2 separate regions of the Homo sapiens genome follow, and region 1 is linked to region 2. Evidence: promoter capture Hi-C in 16 types of primary human blood cells and fetal thymus (Javierre and others, 2016). All regions are on one chromosome and are shown on one strand. The core of a region is centred on a gene start or on the middle of the fragment in contact, and the rest is flanking DNA. Distances in the headings are between cores, read along the strand shown.

Region 1 (2,700 bases), core at 201-2,700, 980 kb after region 2:
GAGACGGCAGCAAGCAACAGCCCAGCGGGCCAGGCTGCCCTGGATGCTCACCTGATGTGGTGCAGGACCTCCTGGCACTGGTTGTGGTACTGCTGGAGCCAGGCTTTGAGCTGGTTGGGGGCAACCACCAGCAAAGGGTGAAGCGGCTTTCCCAAAGATGCCTGGAACAAAAAATGCAAGTGCCGACTCGACGACAGAACATCTCAATAAAAACTGGAGTGCCAAGAGGCATGGCGGATGATGTGTAAACCGCTGAAACTCAGAACGCCCATCAAGTGCCACACTTACCAAGGCGCGTTCTCTCTGCAGCAAGATACTTGGCAAGCCCTGGCAAGGAAACAGGAGACATGCGTCAGCCAGGCCCCAGGGCCATCCCCTCCGGGTTAGGGTCTGCAGCCCTCTCTCTTGCAGGAGTTGCCAGCCCGACGTCACCCACCAGCCTCTAACACAGCCGCAGTGGGGGTGGCACAGGCCGAGCCCCCTGCGCCATGGCCCTGAAATGTCACAGGCAGAAAGCGACACGACCCGTGCTGGGAAGAGGGCAACGGCCCAGGGCCCGGCACCCCAGGAGACCAAGGTGAGGGTCTCATAGCCACACCTCCTGCATCCGGTCAAAGCTTCCGCTGAGCAGGCCGTGTGAGATTCAAGACTCAAGGAAGGCTGGGTAAACTCAAACCTGTCCTGCTGCAGGAAAGGAACTGAACAGGAAGAGAAGACATTCTTGTGGCGCAGAAGGACTATGTTGAGTTTTGCAAAAAACCATTTCCTAGCCAGAGATGAGTAACAAAAGCTCTGGGCAAGTTTGGAAGCGGAGGAAAAGACGCAGCCAAAGGGCCAACTCAACGTGGCAGTGCCTCCTCCAGGCTCCAGCTTTGTGGTCCAGCCCAACACTCACCGTGTGGTGATCTGCGTGCAGGTGGGACACAAACACAGCAGCCAGGGTGCCCAGGACCCTGTCCACCTGGTCTCCGTAATGACGGCACAGCTGCCCAAATGTGCCCTCACCACAGTCCAGTAGCAGAGACGTGTCGGGGCTGCAGAAGAGAAGAGGAAGAGAGTCACTGCCACTAGGAAGACTGCTGATGGTTCAGAGGCTGATGTCTGCTTTGGACAGGACCAAGAAGCAACTGCAGAAATTTCTGTCTCTCCTGCTTTGCTTTGAGGAGCTAATATAAAAGCCAATTAATTTAACCATAAAGGTGATTTTACATGTGTCATCCTCTTTATAGCAAAGAAGTATCCATGGAACCCTGAAACCCTTTCAAGTAGACTTACACAAAGGCTGGGCATCAAAAAAAAAAAAAAAAAGTTTATAGGAGGCTTAAAGCATTTAGTCCTAACAATGAATCTGACCATGCAGATTGACTGTGGCCACAGCCTCTGTTGAAAATACCAGGACAGGCACTGGGCCATATGAGACTCTTTCTAGGTCCAGCTGCCATCGGACTTTTCCCCCTTTGCAAGTGGTCGGGGTTTCCTCAGCTCATGTCCTCAAAGACACCTGGTGCAGGGCGGGCTGCAGGTGCTTCATTCAGGGAGCCAGTTAACGCAGACTCCCAGGTGTCACTCGGGGTTTCTGACTTGGTTTTAGGCAGGGCTCTGGAAGTCTGGATTCTGACAAACTTCTTGGGCTATTCTGCTGTGCAGTCCATTTCAGAAGCTCTGCTCCAAGGCAGAGAGAGTGCTGACCCGCTCTGGCCTCCTTCATTCTCTGGGAGGAGCCACGAACACTGAGAGGGCTGCACCCATTTTGCAGAGAGAAGCCCCGGTGCTAAGACATTACCTTCTGGGGGAAAAAGGAGTCGGGAGGCGGAGGCAAGGTGGCAATAGCACCTTCCCATTAGCTTCAGCTGGTTCAAAAGCTGCTCGCAGGGTGTCAGGTCAAACTCAAAAAGCCCTTCTTCCCCCAGGATCTCAGCCCCCGGGAGAGGCCGGCTCACTCCAAGCTGCTTTATTGCATGTCCTCATCCACAGAGAAACACACCCCAGATTGTATATTTCTGATGTCAGGGCACATCTCGTCACTGCTGTATATATTTAATGCACTATTTGGTTGTTTATCATCCACCACTAGCATGTAAGATGGCAGAGCAAAATTTAAAACAAACCTGGTAATTCACAATCTTATTTTCTTCACATACTATCTGTAGAGATAACGTGTACATGTCACAACGCATTTGACTAATCTCTCTGCTGATGACCCCAGGCAAACCCAAGAGAATCAACTAAAAAACATGTCAAGGGGAATCCAATAAAGGTTCTGAACACAAATGTGCAAAACCCTAAAGCTTTTTAACATACTACCAACAAATGGCTGGGGGACAATACCATGTAGCAATCAAGACCCCAAGTCCCCGCTCAAACTTCAGATGCCCCACTTACCAGCTGTAGGAACCATAGCAAGTCACCTCTCTGAATATCAGGTCACTCATCAACAAAATGGGTAGTTATTCACCACTTCATAGGATTAATGTAAAAATTAAAGGAGCTAATTTCTTAGCTAGGTGTACTGCCCACAGTAAAATCAGCTGTTTATTAAAAGACATCATGGGATGAATTTTGGTGATTCCCAGGGTAAAGTTTGCTACTGAGGCTATAAAATGCAGTAAGGCCACGCTCCTCTCCTGGACACTCCAGTCGACATGACAAGTGACAGGGCTTGATACCGCATTTCAAATCGACTGGTGAGTACAGCAGGAC
Region 2 (2,923 bases), core at 147-2,646:
CTACTGATTTCCAGATGGGAATCTGGCCATGTTTATAAGACCTGGACTTGAAGATATTGGGCAGCCAACGAGGCCCATGGAGGAGAATTCTGGCGGGCTCTCCACTGAAGTACACCTACCTGCTCTCACCTTCAATTTGCCTTTAATGCCTCTCCACTTGATGTTTACGGCTAGCCACTTTTAGGATCTGAGCCATCAAGATGATGGATGAAATTGGGTTTGGAACAAGAAGGCAGGGCTATTTTGACCCAGGACACATTTCCAACATGCTGTGAAGAACTCTCAGCATCAAATAACATCTGGGTGGAAGAAGTTTTGGGAAAGAAGTCTAGCTGTAGATCACACAATGCTTCTAAATGGGAGAAAATGTCCAGCTCCATGGCTTAGATTCTTTGGGAAGTAGGATAACTGGCTATTCCATTTTAGGCAAGGCTGCCTGGCCAGAAACCCATGTCTTACCATTTCGAGTACATTATGGTTGGCTTACAAATCGTAGCCTCATAGAGAACTTTTTCTTCTTTTAGCTACTGTCTTCCTAAAATAAAAGTCTCTGTGCAAAGCAATGGAAGAAACCTCATATTGTTTTTTGGGGTTGTCATTTTATGTAACTTACAATAATGACTACGGCTCGTCTTATACAAGATGTAAAGGATTTGGGAGAGGGAATCCAGTGTGCATTTAGGGGAAGATGGTGATGTAGATAGCATATTTCAGGAGGCTGGGAAGTGTCGAGTGCTTAAATATATGCTTCTCAAATTTAATGGGCATACAAATTACCTGGTGGTATTATTAAAATGTAACCTCTAATTCAGTAGTTTTGGGATGGGTCCATGGACAGCACTTTGGTTAGTTCCCCTTGGGACTCCCCTTTCCCCTCAGAGAAGTGTAGAGGGTTGGGGTATTGGGCTTAAGAGGAGTTCCAGACTGTAACCATAGCTCTAGGTAACTCCCTTCTGGAAGTGATGTGTTAGCGACTGGAGGAGAAAGGGATCCCTGGGATCCTTTTCAGCTTTACTATTCTGATTTGGGGTTCTGAGATTCCAACAAAGTGGACTTTTGGGAGTCACAGACCTCCATGGGAATGATGAAAGCTGCGTACCTTCTTTCCGCACAAATGCAGGCCCACCTTTAATTCTGCAAACCACTTTAGGCCCCGCGGGCCCGCAGCCCTGGTCCAAGACAGCTGTCTGCTTCACAGGTCGCGCACCCAGAGCCGGGCGGTTCTGCAGCTCAGCATCTGGCCCGGGCTGCGCGTCGGGCTCTGGCGGGGGCGTGTCAGGAGGCGTGTCCGGGGCGTGTCGGAGGCGGGGCCAAGGCGGGGGTAAGCCTCGCCCCTCGGCCGTGCGAGAGGCCGAGCTTGCTGCATTGCAGCCGCCGCGGCGCCGCTCGGCTCTTCACTCCCAACAATGGCGGCTCCGAGCCCGAGCGGCGGCGGCGGCTCCGGGGGCGGCAGCGGCAGCGGCACCCCCGGCCCCGTAGGGTCCCCGGCGCCAGGCCACCCGGCCGTCAGCAGCATGCAGGGTAAGGAACGCGGCCGCGCCGAGATCCCAGCCCCCTAGCGCGGCAACCCGCGTCGTCGCGGCCTGCCCCAGCGGACGCCCCCGGACCCGGCTGAGGAAGCCACGGCAGCCGCCGGCTTCTCCCTCTCTCCCTCCCCGGCTTCCCGCCCCGCTCCCGGCCGCCTCCGGCCCGGCTTGGATCCGGGCTCCGGCCCGCATAGGCCCCGGCCGCGGCCTCTGCCTGCGCTTGGCCCCTGGGCCCTACCGGGCTCTCAGCAGGCCCGCAGGGCCCACCTGGTCCGGGACCGCCCCCGCGGCCGTCCCCATCGCCCCCGCCGCTTACCTGGCGCCCGCCCGGCCCCCGTTTCCGGGAACGCGCCGGCTCGGGGCTGCGGCGGAGCGGGAGGGGCGTCGGGCCTGCCCCCTGGTCCCTGACGCCGCTCAGGTAGGCGGCGAAGACAGCGGCCCCGGCCGGCGCCCCTCGGCCCCGCCGCCGCAGTGGGCCCCGCTCAGGGCCATCTTGGCTGTCGCCGGGCACAGCTGGAGCCGGACCACCGAGCTGACCTCGGGCTACGGGGGCCTCTTGGAACCTGCGTTTTCAAACTTTTGCAGGGTTTCTGTGCGCTGGAAGGGATGGGGGTGGGGGGCGGGTTGCCCAGGCCTGTGCCACCTGTAAGGTAGGTAGGCTGCATTGGCCTGGGAGAGGCATTTTGTTCCAGGCCAGGGATTTCTGTGTTAGCATTGCGTGCAGGAAGAAAAAAAAAAAAAAAAAAAAAGAAGACTTAATTTGGTTTAAATGGAGAGATACAGGAAATAGACAGGGGTCAAAGTGATACTGTAGTGTCTGGACATTTGAGGCAGCTCTGCTAATTAATGACTTTCCCCACTGGGAATGCTTATTAGCTGTGTATGGCTTTTGACAGGGGGTGTTGTGAAAATACCAGGCCAGGCCCGAGCCTGTTAGGGACCATTTCCTTAAATTTACTGGGGAATTTTGAGTAGTAATGCTATTTTTAAAACAGGGAATCTCAGAACTCTCTTGACAACTTTAGCAAACTGCTTGTGTTGAATTATTAACAGAATAAGGGTTGGGGTACCCTTGGTAGTCAGTGTGACCATGGTTACTTTTTGATTCCATTCCTCTTAAAGGGCTTCTAGCATTTAGTTAGGTTCAACAGACATTTATTGAATAGTTCATGTTTATAGAGCATGCCATAATTCAGAAAGAAGAGACAGGATTTTATTTATCTTTACATCCCTGTCACCCTCCCCATGAAATAATTTTAATATACATAAAAACCAGTGATAGATATATAGACAGGATGATGTCAGAGCTTAGAGGACACTTTCTGTGCAGGCCCTCAGATAATTCATTCAAATTGAATTAGTTATTGGATGCCCACTGTGTTGCACAGCACATTATA

What was found. The method cuts DNA at HindIII sites, captures the fragments that hold promoters and counts their contacts. A CHiCAGO score of 5 or more calls a contact.
Region 1: a contact is called between a fragment that was not itself captured here and the fragment with the promoter of MAP2K4 in region 2, in 1 of 17 cell types (M0 macrophages). The highest score is 8.2, in M0 macrophages.

Annotation. Positions count from the first base shown.
Region 1 is chr17:12,995,652-12,998,351 of GRCh38, forward strand. It overlaps ELAC2 (elaC ribonuclease Z 2), which reads right to left. Exons shown (of 24, transcript NM_018127.7): 17 at 896-1,034; 18 at 289-327; 19 at 52-161. Among named protein-coding and RNA genes, the nearest start is that of ELAC2, 21 kb to the right of the region's middle. The HindIII fragment of the contact is 1,671 bases long and covers 616-2,286 here.
Region 2 is chr17:12,019,481-12,022,403 of GRCh38, forward strand. MAP2K4 (mitogen-activated protein kinase kinase 4) reads left to right here and starts at 1,397. Exons shown (of 11, transcript NM_003010.4): 1 at 1,397-1,521. The coding sequence starts at 1,407. It also overlaps a transcript of ZNF18 not described here. RefSeq lists an enhancer at 1,197-1,697 and a silencer at 1,234-2,113. The HindIII fragment of the contact is 6,257 bases long and covers 1-2,923 here.